2 separate regions of the Homo sapiens genome follow, and region 2 is linked to region 1. The links are contacts of gene promoters, found by promoter capture Hi-C in blood cells and fetal thymus (Javierre and others, 2016). All regions are on one chromosome and are shown on one strand. The core of a region is centred on a gene start or on the middle of the fragment in contact, and the rest is flanking DNA. Distances in the headings are between cores, read along the strand shown. Region 1 holds the start of LINC00967 (long intergenic non-protein coding RNA 967). Region 2 overlaps RRS1-DT (RRS1 divergent transcript).

What was found. The method cuts DNA at HindIII sites, captures the fragments that hold promoters and counts their contacts. A CHiCAGO score of 5 or more calls a contact.
Region 2: a fragment that was not itself captured here is called in contact with the fragment with the promoter of LINC00967 in region 1 in 1 of 17 cell types (M2 macrophages); the score reaches 5.1 in M2 macrophages.

What each region holds. Positions count from the first base shown.
Region 1 is chr8:66,189,327-66,196,450 of GRCh38, reverse strand. It overlaps LINC00967 (long intergenic non-protein coding RNA 967), which reads right to left and starts at 4,337. Exons shown (of 3, transcript NR_039979.1): 1 at 3,484-4,337; 2 at 3,140-3,193. The HindIII fragment of the contact is 5,384 bases long and covers 1,545-6,928 here.
Region 2 is chr8:66,421,048-66,428,488 of GRCh38, reverse strand. RRS1-DT (RRS1 divergent transcript) reads left to right here. Exons shown (of 3, transcript NR_040434.1): 2 at 2,312-2,447; 3 at 4,707-7,441. All of the region lies in intron 1 of LOC102724687 (a long non-coding RNA gene), which reads left to right. Among named protein-coding and RNA genes, the nearest start is that of RRS1-DT, 4.2 kb to the left of the region's middle. RefSeq lists an enhancer at 17-86. The HindIII fragment of the contact is 4,764 bases long and covers 3,777-7,441 here.

The sequences.
Region 1 (7,124 bases), core at 3,088-5,587:
CAAGCAGCATTTAACTCCAGTTACAACAGTGAACACAACAGACAAAAATCCCTGCCTTTAATGAGGCTTACATCCTTGGGTGGAAGATAACAAGAAATCAGATAATTCAGTGAGATAGAATGTGAGTGCCAAGGAGAACAAGCAGAAAGGGAGAGTTCAAGTGTGCAGGAGAAAGCGGTTGAAAATTTTTGAGAGGGTGGTCCGGGAAGGCCTGAGTGAAGATCTGAGTGAAGGCCTAAAGATTTCCTAGGCTGGAGATGAGAGGAACTTTCTGTTGGGATCACTTTTTATCAGACCCAGCACATCAACACATCGCCACCTACAAAGTGCTTGCTTTTGGGAAACATCTTTCTTTACTTCTCAGAAGAATCCATGTTCTTGCTTTTGTGTTAGCCAATTCCTTCTTGAAGCTCTGGCTCTGCCTCCAGCCCTTACCTTAGTTCAGATAATGACAATTGTAGTTACAAAGTGCTTAACTCTTACGGAAGCACTGGATTCCACCAGCCTGTCTCCTTCAGTATAGTCTGTAGAATATCTGTAGTATAGTCTGTAGTATGTCTGTCTTATGCAGTTGAGATAAGGACTGAGATATGCCCTGGTCTCCTGCAGTACCCTCAGGCTTATTAGGGTGGGGAAAAATTCCACCCTGGTAAATTTGTGGTCAGACCAGTTCTCTGCTCTTGATCTCTGTTTTCTGTTGTTTAAGATGTTTATCAAGACAATACGTGCACTGCTGAACATAGACCATTATCAGTGGTTCTGCTTTTGCTCTTTGCCCTGTGATCTTTGTTAGACACTTATTAGTAGCTCTGCTTTTTGCCCTTTGAAGCATGTGATCTTTGTACCTACTCCCTGTTCTTACATCCCCTTCCCTTTTAAAACCCTTAATAAAAACTCGCTCCTCTGAGACTCAGGCGGGCATCACAGTCCTACTGATATGTGATGTCACCCCTGGCGGCCCAGCTGTAAAATTCCTCTCTTTGTACTCTTTCTCTTTATTTCTCAGCCAACTGACACTTATGGAAAATAGAAAGAACCTATGTTGAAATATTGGGAGCGGGTTCCCCTGATACCTCTTGTTCTTAACATGCCTTGATGTTCTTGCTCTGTCTTCAGTCCTTACCATTGTTCAGATAATGTGAACTGCACTTAGAAATCACTTAACTTTTCCAGAAGCCAAAGTAAGGACATCACGTACATCTACGCATTTAATCCTCACAGCAATACCTCTATGAGGTAGGTCCTGTTTTCCTCATTTCACTAATGAAGAAACTGAGACACAGAGAAGTTCCATGAGCTACGTAGCCACATAACTAATAACCCATAGAGCTGGGATCTGGATCTGGGAAGGCACGGGTCTGTTCATCAAGCTGTTTGACAGCTTCTTTGGCACCTTGGGCTGCTCCCAGCGGACCCACCTTAGTTGGAAGATTTCTGACTGGTGTCTGTGTCCTTGCCATCCCAGCATTGTACCTGGCACACAGTGGACACCCAATATGCTCATTATCATCTTTATTTGACATGTCCATCTAGCCCAACAAGCTTGAGTGTGTTCTCTAAAATATACATCCTCCCATGTATTTTCCCTGTTAAAAGCCCTCATTGACTCTGTCCACCAAGAACCACATCTCAGGTTCAGGAGCAGGCCTTTGCTGACATGTCTAGCTTTACCTGTGAGAGCTTTCCTGTGTGCACAACTTCATACTCTCTAGGAAACCACTTGTAGTTTCTGGAACACTGGGAACTTCCTCACAGCTTTGCTTATGTTGGGAGCACTCTGTCTAGAATGAGCCCCGTTCTGCTGCTCGTTGGCCAGCTCCTGATCCTCTTTCCAGTCTCATGGCAGGCATTGCCTCCTCTGGGAGCTTTTCTCGAACCCTTCCTCCTTCCCCGACCAGAGGTAGATTCCCTCCTCTGTACCTGCAGAGTGCTCACCATAAATGTTGTCTTTAATGCTTCTTCCTCCAGTGGGCAGAGGATACCTCAAAGGCAGCAGGACATTCACCTATTCATTTTTATCTTCACCTCTAGCACAGGCTCTAGGGCATAGTAGACGCTCAGTAAATGTTGGGGTTGAGTAATAACTGTTTTCAGTACTCTCTGGCTGGTTGGCATTCAGAGGTCAGAACCTAAATTGGGGCCTTTCTCTGGATACAAGTGTATCAGCTGAGGGAAAAGTTACAGAAACAGAAGTCACCTGTGTCAGGTTGACTTTGGCAGGGTAACCTTTGCTGCCTGGCAGTCCCTTGGATAATATAAGAAAATTTTGGCAAAACAGTGTTACCTGTGCTTGGCTTTGAGAATCCTCCCAAATGGTGGAGAAATAAGAAGCAAGACTCACAGCAAAGGCAGAATGCTAATCAGCTCCCTGTGTCTTGTCTTGTGTTGGAAGAAAAAGAATCATGCAAATGTTGCCTAATTGTTTACTTCATTATGTGAGCTTGTTCCTCACCTCATTATGCACAGAATTTGCAAGTTGCTTTCTACCTTCCTCCCATTTCAAATAGCTGATCTGAAACTTCATCAAAGATTCATATTAATTAGCAAGGCTCCATATAGCAAATATTAATTTGGAAACTGATGTGAGGCATCAACATCAACTTATAACATCCATTATAGAACGAGAAAGTGCAAATCTTTCCCAGGCCCTAAGATGTGGGGAGGTTTGGCTCTATTTTGAGGATCTGCATAAGCACATTTGTTAGTAGGTTGTAACCATTGCTCCTGGGAATGGCCCCACTAAGGATGGACAGAATGGATGTTGAGCATGGTTTTTACAGAAGAGGTGTAAGGATTAAAATTGATGAAGGAAACCCAGCAGCAAACAGAAGAATTACTATGGATAATGCTCAGGTAAGTTTCCAGGGATGCTCTGGCTGAGCCTGCTGGTTTAGTCTTCTCTTGAACAATATGAGCATAAACGGTGAATATTCCTCATGATCACACCTTGTAGTCAGTGCTGAGGGAAGAGGCAAGCTGGTAGCATGGCATACATATGGGGTTCTCCCTTCACAACCATGTGATACTGTCCCACCCCTCCCCAGATTGAGAAGGAGGAGAGAAAGGGAAAGGAGGGGCTCTTTGGGAACCCCAACACCCCTCCACATATCAGCTGGGAGACATCAGCCAAGTTACTTACCCATTCTGAGCTCCGCTTCTTCTTCTATGGAATGTGGATAATCACTTCTACTTCCTAGCAGAGTTCCAAGAGAGAGGATGAGAGAAAAAAAAAAAAAGAAAGAAAGAAAAGACATAAAACTTCTAGAAGAATCATAAACAAGAGAAGCCATGATTGCACTTTTTTTGACCAAAAGAGAAGGAGCTGTAGTGCCCCAGAGTTCCCAGAGGAAAAGTCTCAGTGGTTAGTTCTGAGAACTGCTTAGCCCCTTTTAGTTCCTGTATTGGTCAGGGTTCTCTAGAGGCACAGAACTAATAGGACAGATGTGTACATGAAGGGGAGTTTATGAAGGAGTATTGACTCACATGATCACAAGGTGAAGTCCCACAATAGGCCGTCTGCAAGCTGAGCAGCAAGGAAGCCAGTCTGAGTCCAAAAACCTCAAAAGTAGGGAAGCTGACAGTGCAGCCTTCAGTCTGTGGCCGAAGATCTAAGAGCCCCTGGCAAAACACTGGTGTAAGTCCAAGAGTCCAAAAGCTGAAGAACTTGGAGTCTGATATTCAAGGGCAGAAGGCATCCAGCACAGGGGAAAAGTGAAGGCCGGCAGACTCAACACGTGTTCTTATCTTATTTTCCAACTTCGGCCAGCTTTTATTCTAGCCACACTGGCAGCTGATTAGATGGTGCCCAACCAGATTGAGGGTAGGTTAGCCTCTCCCAGTGCACTGACTCAAATGTTACCTCCTTTGGCAACACCCTCACAAACACACTCAGGAACAATACTTTGCATCCTTCAATCCAATCAAGTTGACACTCAATATTAACCATCACAGTTCCCCTGGAAGATTTCTGATAAAACCCCAGCAGATACAAATGTGATTGGCATTTTTGTATTTCGTAAAAAACCTAAAACCTCAATTTTCAGCCATTGTTAATGTTTATTCTTCATCTTCTTCTTGGTTCTTAGTCAACTACTTTGCTCAAAGAACCTAGGGGCTTAGTATTGGAGAGTTGATGTGGCTTCAGGGGCTTGACACTGCTTTGGGGATGTGAATGAAACTTGCATGGACACAAGGGCCCTACATTGAGCTATCTCTTTCTTGGTGCCCCCAACCCCATTCTGACCAGGCTCACCTCACTCACTCAGCACCAGGGGGTCAGCCCATATGTGGGAGAATGAGTGCCTCACCAGTACAATGCTCTTTGATCAGGAGCTGCCTCCATGATTAGATGCAGAAATGACAGCAGGAAGGAAACAACAGCTCTTTTAAAGAAATCCAAACCACCCAGCCTCAGGCAGTTTGGTGAAGAAACTTCTCTTTCCCCCGTCCATGAAGAGTTCAAGGGCCCAGGAAGGTGGCTTTTTAAAAAGCACTCCAAAAGCCAAGTAAATATATCTGTGCATTTTCTAAACTAAGACCAGTGGAGTGACATACTGTTTGTAAGTGCTTGAAGGGTATAAACTTTAAAAAGCTGAGAGGGAAGGCTGAAGGGCTGCAGAAGAAACTGTATCTTAGAGTATCTAGTGGAACAAGATGAACACAAAATTATCAAGGAAATTAAGTCTGGAAGAGGCCTGCTCATCTGGGGCTGGCCTCCTGGGAAGGCATGAAGACAGCTGTATCTGTGCTGTCCCCATCTCCTTGTTGCAGGAAGTCAGGGACCCTGAATGGAGGGACCAGCTGGAGCCACAGCAGAGGAACATAAATTGTGAAGATTTCATGGACATTTATCAGTTCCTAAATAATACTTTTATAATTTCTTATGCCTGTCTTTATTTTAATCTCTTAATCCTGTTATCTTCGTAAGCTAAGGATGTACGTCATCTCAGGACCACTGTGATAATTGTGTTAACTGTATAAATTGATTGTAAAACATGAGTGTTTGAATATGAAATCAGTGCACCTTGAAAAAGAACAGAATAACAGTGACTTTTAGGGAACAAGGGAAGACAACCATGAGGTCTGACTGCCTGCGGGGTTGGGCAAAAACAGCCATATTTTTCTTCTTGCAGAGAGCCTATAAATGGATGTGCAAGTAGGAGAGGTATCACTAAATTCTTTTCCTAGCAAGGAATATTAATATTAATACCCTGGGAAAGGAATGCATTCCTGGGGGGCAGTCTATAAATGGCCGCTCTGGGAGTGTCTGTCTTATGCTGTTGAGATAAGGACTGAGGTATATCCTGGTCTCCTGCAGTACCCTCAGGCTTATTAGGGTGGGGAAAATCTCTGCCCTGGTAAATTTGTGGTCAGACCAGTTCTCTGCTCTCTAACCCTGTTTTCTGTTGTTTAAGATGTTTATCAAGGCAACACGTGCATAGCTGAACATAGACCCTTATCAGTAGTTCTGCTTTGCCTTTGTCCTGTTCCCTCAGAAGCATGTGATCTTTGTTTTGCTTTTTGACCTTTGAAGCACATGATCTTTGTGCCTACTCACTGTTTTACACCCTCTCCCCTTTTGAAATCCTTAACAAAAACTTGCTGGTTTGAGCCTCAGGCAGGCATCATGGTCCTACCGATATGTGATGTCACCCCTGGCAGCCCAGCTGTAAAATTCCTCTCTTTGTACTCTTTCTCTTTATTTCTCAGCTGACTGACACTTATGCAAAATAGAAAGAACCTACGTTGAAATACTGGGGGTGGGTTCCCCCCATATCTCAAGCTGGAGAAAAAGAGGATCCTCCAGAGATCCAATCAGGGAGACAGACAAGATTAGTAAAAGGGGAGTTTTAAAACTTATGATGAATAATTCTTTTCTATTACCCTGACCTTAGAAAGAGAGACCAAGAATGGAGTGATAGTAAGGTCATCCAGAAGCAATTAAGTTATAGATAATTGTAATAATAAAAAAAGAATTTCCAGCCAGTTTGCTATGAGTAATAACTCATGTTACCTTAGGAGAATCTGACAGGTCCCTAACAGCCTGTGGTATAATCAAGGCTCCCACCAGGAAGTGATGATGGACTTATTAATCATGAAAGGAAAAAGGTATACATATACTCTTGAATTTTACTTTTAATTAGCAGTTCATTACCAATTACTAATTACTTAATTACTAATCATTTTTAATCATTGTTTTTAACCTCTCCTTAAGATGCAAAATTCCCCTTTAAGTGTACCTGTTTTCAGTTAAATTAATGAATTAGACTAAGAATAGGGGTTTCAACAAGGAACTAGTTCTTAAGTGAGCATTTACTAAGAAGAGAAACATTAGCCAAATGGATAATTCCCATAGCAATGGCCTTATTCCTAAGTAAAAACATAGCTTTGTTTGAATAAACATGGAGGAACTTACACATAAAATATATATTGTGTAAGTGAAAAAAAAACAGTCAGAAAAGGCTCCATACTGTGTGATTCCAACTGCATGTCTTTCTGGAAAAAAGCAAAATTACAGAAACTAAAAGGATGAAAGGTTGGCAGGGGCTGAAGGGAGGAAGGGATGAATAGGGGAAGTGCAGGGGACAGTTAGGGCAGTGAAACTCTTCTGTATGATACTGTAATGGTGGATACATGAGACAATGCATTTGTCAAAGCTCACAGAATATAAAATGCCAACAGTGAACCCTAATGGAAACCATGGGCTTTAGTTAATAATAATGCATCAATATTGGCTCATCAATTGAAACAAATGCAAGATGTTAATAATAGGGGAAAACTAAAGGGAGGGGTGGTATGGGGTGGGGAGAAAGAATCTCTCAGAACTGTCTACTTTCTGCTCATTTTTTCTGTCAATCTAAAATCACTGTTATAAAATAGTCTATAAATTGAAAAAAATAATCTTCAATCAACTAGGTGGCTGAAAGCTTCTAATATTAGAAGAAAAACCTAGTGAGTATATTTATCTTATTCTTTTATTTCATTAATAAACACTTATTGTGACTGAGCACAGAATGGTAGGCTTGGAGGACCTGAGATTAGACAGAGTTGCCACCTTCAACAGTACCAAGCAACACATCATTACCCCAACAACAACGACAAATGTTTATTGAATACTTATAACT
Region 2 (7,441 bases), core at 4,909-7,408, 230 kb before region 1:
TTGTGAAGATGTTTAGACAATCACCCTTCTTAGGGCCAAATAGTTTCACTGGAGTCATAGTCGGCTTTCAGGGTTCCTAGTTGTGGCCCGAGAAAGATAACATCCCAAAGATACACATAGAGCTAATTGTAGAAGATTCGTTTTGTTTTGGGAGTCAGTGGCTCTGGCAATGAAGCCACCCCGAGTGGGCGCGGGTGTGCACCGACCCTAGTGAGCTAGCTGACTCGGAGATCCGGGATTCTGCAGTTACAGAACCTAGTCTAGTTCAATTAATCTAGTACAGTGCTGAAACTAAGCCACGCTCTGCAGTTACACTGCCTGGGTTCCAATCCTGACTGTGCCACTGTTGGTCCTTCAGCAATTTTACTTGTTGAGGCCGTTTTAAGGCCTGCGAGATAATGATAATAATACTTCCTAGGGTGGTTATAAGATAAATGAGTTAATATCGTCCAAGGGAGGGTTAGACGAGGGCCTGGAGCGTATGAGTACTCAGTACAAATTAGCCAAATACCGATTATTATTTCATTTTCATAGGCTCTGGGAGGTAAGTGCTACATGGTGTTAAGTATGAGTCAAACGGCCTACAATCAGGTATCAGGTCACCATTACTTGGAGAGGATGTTTGATCTAAGCCTTATTTATAAATTGACAAACATAAAACATTAGTTACTGCTACATGGTAAGAACTCAGTATGTGTTAGCTATTAGTATTAACTATGTTATTAATTATTGTATTAACTATATTATTTTCACAGATGAAACAAGGAGGGCTCAGAGAGGTGAAATGACTTATCTAAAGTTATGCAGTTAGGGAATATAAGAACAAGAGATATCTTAACTCTGGTTTTAAGTCTGTAGATCTATTCTCTGCAATGTCGTCCAAGCTCTTGATACTCATTAAAGTGTGGTCTGCATACCAGCAGCATAATATCCCCTGGGAGCTTGTTGGAAATGCAGAACGTCAGGCCTCACTCTAGATGTAATTTATCAGAACCTTTATTTTAATAAGATCTGTAGGTGACTAGGATGTACATTTGAGTATCAGAGGCACTGTTGATTGCGTGGTTTACAGGGTTTATCTTCCTTTCACTGGGGGCCAGGTTTATCCTAGAGGGGGTTATGCTGGAGAATTAACCAATGAAATTAACTTAATAGCAATTAGCAAATAGACTCAGTTTAGTTTCAGCATTGTGCTAGCCTTTCTCATCCAGAAGCATTTTAGAATTTGCTGTTTTTTTTTTCCCCTTGAACCTACTTTAACATTCAGCATCAAGGCTTTAACATCAGTCATCCCATGTAGCCAAGGCTAGGTCAAAGACCATATTAGCTAACTGCCTTGAGCCTTAAACCTTTGGGATTTGCCATAGGAGAGAGTTGAGTGTATTGATATGACTGCTATGGGCTTGGCTTGGTTTCTCATTCATTCATTCACTTGACAAACATTTAATTGAATGGCTACCATGTGGCAGACACTAGGTGCAAAGATAACTGAGACCTTATGGAATACTGGGGAAGAAAGGTAAAAAGAAATTGACTATATAATGTAACGTCATTGGACCTTTAATAGGAAGTACCAGTTATGTAGGAGTTAGCTTCTCTGTCAATCTTCTGAATTGGGAAAAAAAGAGCATAGGTTGACAAGTGTTAAATGGTATGATCTGGATCATACAGGTCAGCTCTTAATTGAACTCTGTTTTATGTTCAGTGTTTTTTTTTTTTTTTTTTTTTTAGACAGGGTCTCACTTTGTCACCCAGGCCGGAGTGCAGTGGCACGATCTTGGCTCACTGCAGCCTCAACCTCCTGGGTTCAAGTGGACCTCCTGCCTCAGCCCCCTAAGTAGCTGGGACTACAGGCACGTGCCACTACACCTGGCTCTTTGTGTGCATGTGTGTGTGTGTATTTTTTGTAGAGCCAGGTTTTGCCATGTAACCCAGGCTGGTCTCAAACTCCTGAGCTCAAGTGATCCACCTACCTTGGCCTTTCAAAGTGGTAGGATTACAGGCGTGAACGACCTTGCCCAGCCATATTCAGTGGTTTTTTATAGTCTAAACTGATTTTAATTTCCTTGAAGACTAGAGACTGATTTTTACTTCCACATAGTGCTGGGCACATATTAGGCATTCAACAAAATGATTGTTTAAAAGCATAAACACTATAGGGTTATCTAATTAAAGGTTATTACTATTGATTGTGTTAGATTCAAGGTGAGCAAAAACAGTAAGATTGGGATTTCGGGCTTAAAAAAAATCTTACTGAGGTAAGTGGGTAAGTTGTGGTCTCCAGGTTGCATTTGTATCATTCTTATTTTAGGCAAGACTATACAGTGCCCAGAGAAAGCAGGCTCTGGCCAGGCGTGGTGGCTCACACCTGTAATCTCAGAACACTGGGAGGCCAAGGCGGGAAGATCCCTTGAGACCAGGAGTTTGAGACCAGCGTGAATAAGATGGTGAGACCCCGTCTCTACAAAAAGTAAAAAAATTAGCTGGCTGTAGTGGCATGCGTTTGTAGTCCCAGCTACTCAGGAGGCTGAGGAAGGCTCCCTTGAGCCCAGGAGTTTGAAGTTACACTGAGCTGTGATGGTGCCACTGCACTGCAGCCTGGGCAACAGAGCATCTCCTGATTCTGAAATAAATAAATAAAAACCTCCTTCATTAAAAAAAGAAAAAGGAGGCCTACCAGAGATGTATAAATATATATGAATATATATTAATAGTACAGCAAATGGTGGTATATATTGTCTTTTTCTTTTGTTGGTTTCCCTTCTTCCTTATATCCCGTAAATACAGAGAGATCCTAAGTTTGGTCATCAGATCCCACTTTTTCTCTCTATGTGCTCCCTGTGACATGTCATCCACTTGCATGGTGCCAGCTACCACTTTTGTGCAGCTGGTTCTTACAGGTACATTTTTCTTTCTTTTTCGGAGCTCTAGGATTTAATCTTCAACTACCTACTGGGCTTTTCCGCCATATTCTAAACTCAATATGGCTAAAACGACATAACATATCATCATCTCCCAGATTTGCTTCTCCTTCATCCATCCATCCATCCATCCATCCATCCATCCATCCATCCATCCGTCCATCCCTCCCCTCTTTTTCTCCCAGGAAATGTTTATAGAAGGCCTTTGATGCCTGAGGCACTATGCCGACATTGAGTTGATGTTATCATCATTCTAGTCTAGAGCTTGGGCTTGAAACTATGACATCATCCTTGACTTTTCTCTTCCTATCTCCAAATCCAATCAATGTAAAAGTCTTGTTTGGCTTATCTCTATATTGTACCTTTTCCATTCCCACTGCCATGACCTTGCCACTATTTTCCTAGACTGGATCTCTTTCATCTGCTTCTCCATATTCTTTCTCCACTCTGTCCCTGGCTTCCAACTGGGTTTGGCCAGCAGGGGCAGTGACAGAAGATCAGAAGGCGTGAAGAGAGTGAGGGCACGCATGCAGATTGCCATCAAAAGTCCATCAAAAGGCCACAGCTCCCATCAGGTAGCCCTGTCCACGCAGCCATCTTCCTCCTGCTCCTCTAGCTGCTCCCTTGGTTGCTGCAGGCCTAGGAGTGATTATAGTTCTCTGCTAATGCAGCACTACCGTTATTGTCAGTTTCCTTAAACTGCCCACATCTCTGCAAGTATTCTTTGTTTATCTTTCTTAAATTACCCAGCTTGACCACTGCCTGTTTGCTGCCCTGACTGATATCCTGGGAACCATCCTAGGAGCATCCCAACATTTCCTGCTTCCATACTCTTTTCAGGGCAGTCCTGAAGCTTTACCTTTTGTGCATCTGGCCAAATCACTCTTCTCAAAGACCCTCCTTTCTCCTTAATGAAATAATGACTATTCTTGGTCTTGGATGTTTATGATCTGGCCCCAAGCAACTTTTTTTGTAGTCACATGTCATGATAGTCCTCCTTATGCTTGTTTTCCAAGTATTTCTTTCCCACTCTTATTTTCTATCTTAGCTCTCTCTAGAGCCTTAAGAACATTCCTCAAGAAAGGGAAAAGTGAGGTGAGGTGCAGGGCAGAAAAAGCAGCAATTATTGTAAAGTGAACCTGGAAGGGAGAGTTTTTCCCAAAGCAGGAATAAGAAGGTTAAAGCCATGAAAGCAATACCTTTCATGTTCCCTCAAAACATAACTACTTTGGTCAGTAAAACATTTTTGTAAGAAATTTCCTTTTCATTCTTTGATGCCACATTAACTTGGATTTACTTTCTAAATGTCTGTTTTTTCAGTTGCCTCTTTTTGGTAGCGGAAATTGTTAGGGATGATTCAACCATTCTTTAATCCTGCTGTGAGCATAGTTTATAAAAGTATTTTTGTCTAGGAAATTCAGTGTGCCAGTAATTTGATAAAATAGGAGAAAAGGGCCCTTGAAATGCTTACATTATTTCCACATGGCTCATTTTTACTGATTTGAGATTTTAATTTGGAAGTACTTAAAAGAAAAAAATTTCTTAATCATAGACAAAACTTGTATTTATGTATTTCAGTCTTAGTGAGAAACCTGTACTAAAAGTTTATTATTTTATTTTAAAGAGGAACAAAGAAGATACAGCATTTTGTGTAGTTAATGTAGAAGCAGATAGAAAAACGACGAAATATTGTACATTCACCTATAAAGAACTTTGGATTTTAGGATAGTAAAATTGATGGTAGACTTTTGGAACTGATTTAAGTTGTTTTGGTCTCTGTTGCAGGGTGAAAATGCTGTGATACCTTTCCTCAGCCCTCAAAAGGGTCATGGCTGCCGGGAGTGGTGGCTCATGCCTATAATCCCAGCACTTTGGGAGGCCGAGGTGGGCAGATCACCTGAGGTCAGGAGTTTGAGACCAGCCTGGCTAACATGGCGAAACCCTTTCTCTACTAAAAATACAAAAATTAGCCAGTCGTGGTGGCGGGCGCCTGTAATCCCAGCTACTTGGGAAACTGAGGCAGGAGAATCGCTTGAACCTGGGAGGTTGGAGGTTGCAGTGAGCCGAGATTGGGCCACTGCACTGCAGCCTGGCCAATGGAGCATTTCAAAAAAAAAGAAAGAAAGAAAGAAAAAGGAGGGGGGTTGTCATGGTTGACACTCCTATAATGAAAGACAGGTTAACAAGACAAAAGCACGGCAAATTTATTCAGTCAGAATTTTGCGTGACACGGAAGCATTCACAATGAAGACTCAAAGACCCAAGGGAAAACTGTCCATTTTTATGCTTAGATTCAATGAGGAGTGGACAACCATGTAAAAATGGGATTGGACAAAAAGGAAATAATCTAATGTAATAGATTGAAGGGGAACAACCCAGCAAGGCCTGACTATTTGGATTCTTCTTGGCCTCTCTGTGTGGCATTCCTTCCTCCCTGGTATAGAGCAGGACCCCTTCTGGAATAAGGGTTTTATGATCTACTATCAGACAAGGTAGACCAGAGAATTTCTTTATGGCCAGCTCATATGCAGAAAGGCAATGGAAGTTGAGAGAAATATGTTTAGTTTCTATGACCCACTGTGGGGCAGAGGAATTCTGATTTCTATGGCCTGCCTTAGGGTAGAAGGGGGACCAGGAGACAGGAGGGCAGGAGAAGCCCAGAGAGAGACTTTGTTTCTAGGGTCCTTCCAGTATCCTTCGGCTCAAAGTACTCAGCATATCAAAGCACCTTACTTTGGGGCATTGTTTTTCTGAGCTCCAATGCTGTAAAAGACACAATGGTTTTTATTTTCCAAAAATTGCTAGATGCAGCTTTTTGCATTTGCCACAATCTTATTACCACCTGTAAGTAAGCACCACTAGCTGATAGTTTTTATTCATAAAACATCATCATTGTATCCTAAGAGAATGAGATTGGTATTGGTCTTTAGATTTTACTTCTATAAGCAGATCAGCTACATGGATGAAAGACTGATATAAAATGGAAAGCTGAATTTCCAGAATTTTAGGGATATTTGCACTCAAAGAATCTAATAACAGAATATTTAGATCTGCTTATTAATCTATCATTTTAATTACATTTTAATTTATGAATTTAAAGTTACAATGAGTAAAAAATCCTTTTAGGTTTTTATTAATCAGTAACACCTGAACAGTTTTTGTAAATTGCTTTAGAGTAGATTTACTCCAGACGAGGCAGCTGAGTCCGGAATACCTTTCCCCTAAGGAAAGCAACCTTGTTGCCATGCAGCCTTCAATTTGCCTTTGTAGTCATAGACCATGTATGAAATATCAATCCTTTCTAAATGAAGTGACTGCCAATCAAATCTTTCTTTTAAACTTCCCACTAGAGCAATATTAAGAATACACAGGGAAGTTATGAAGTTGTGATTATGCCGAATAAACACAAATTCCTGGCCCTTCTTAACCATGAATTATTTCTAAACATTATTAACCCATTATTTTTTAGAACACATCCGTGAAAAGTGAAAACAATGGATAGAAAAACCAAAACTCTGACCACATATGTGGTCAGTTCTGTAGCCTACACTTTTCCTTTTTGAAGTGTTTTTATTTGCCAAAGGAAGACAGCAAAGGAAAGAACCTCTTAGTGGCAAGTAGGTGTCACTGTGTACTTGTCAGCCACTGAGAGTGCACCAGTCTTGTCAGCTCCCTGGGCCGCTTGGGGATGCAGAAGATTCAGTTGCTTGTAGCATAGGTGCTTTCCCCCAGGCCTAAATAGGACTTATTTAGAATGTATAAATAATGTTCCTTGCATTTCCTAATGTTTATTTCCCTTGCCTCATTATCCAAAATACTGTGAATTTTTAGCTGAGGAAGCTGACTTCTTATGGTGTATCCTGGATTTTCTTCCCTGGAAAGCCTGTGAATTTCAAAGGAAACAAAGTTTAGGTCTCAGGCTTCCCCTTATTTATCTTGAGAATGAAGGGTTTTGAAGAGGTGGCCTTTGCAATTCATCTCTATGATCCTTTTCTTTTGTTTCAAACCTACATACTTCAGGTGCTCCAATGTTGTTTTCTTATAAAGTGCTTTCTTTCCTAGTTGTTGATTAAAGTTTTTTCCAGTATATCTCATTTTACAAACCTCCCCCTCTTTCTGAGTCATTTATCTCATTTCCTAGGCTGATTGTATGATTTCACTTAGTGAAACAGCTTCCTGTGTGCACAAGGAGTCTGTGACTATACAGATGTCAATCAGTTTTTAATTATGTGGAGGCTGATTATTGTGTTTCATAGCTTATTTGTAATTCTTTTCTTTTTTCTTTGCTTGCCCTTAAAGAGAGAATGGGCAGCGTATAGTCCATTTTATTGTTTGTTACTTGTTCTGGAAAAATGTCATAGAGAAGAAGATAGAGGAGATATTTATAAAATATTTATGTTTATAAAGTTGAATCTGAGAATGGAAAGATTGTGGATTGACTATCTCTTTTCTAGCTCAAGATCTAGAACTGATGATGTCCTTTGATTGTTACAGTTACAGACAAGTTTTAAAGACAGCTT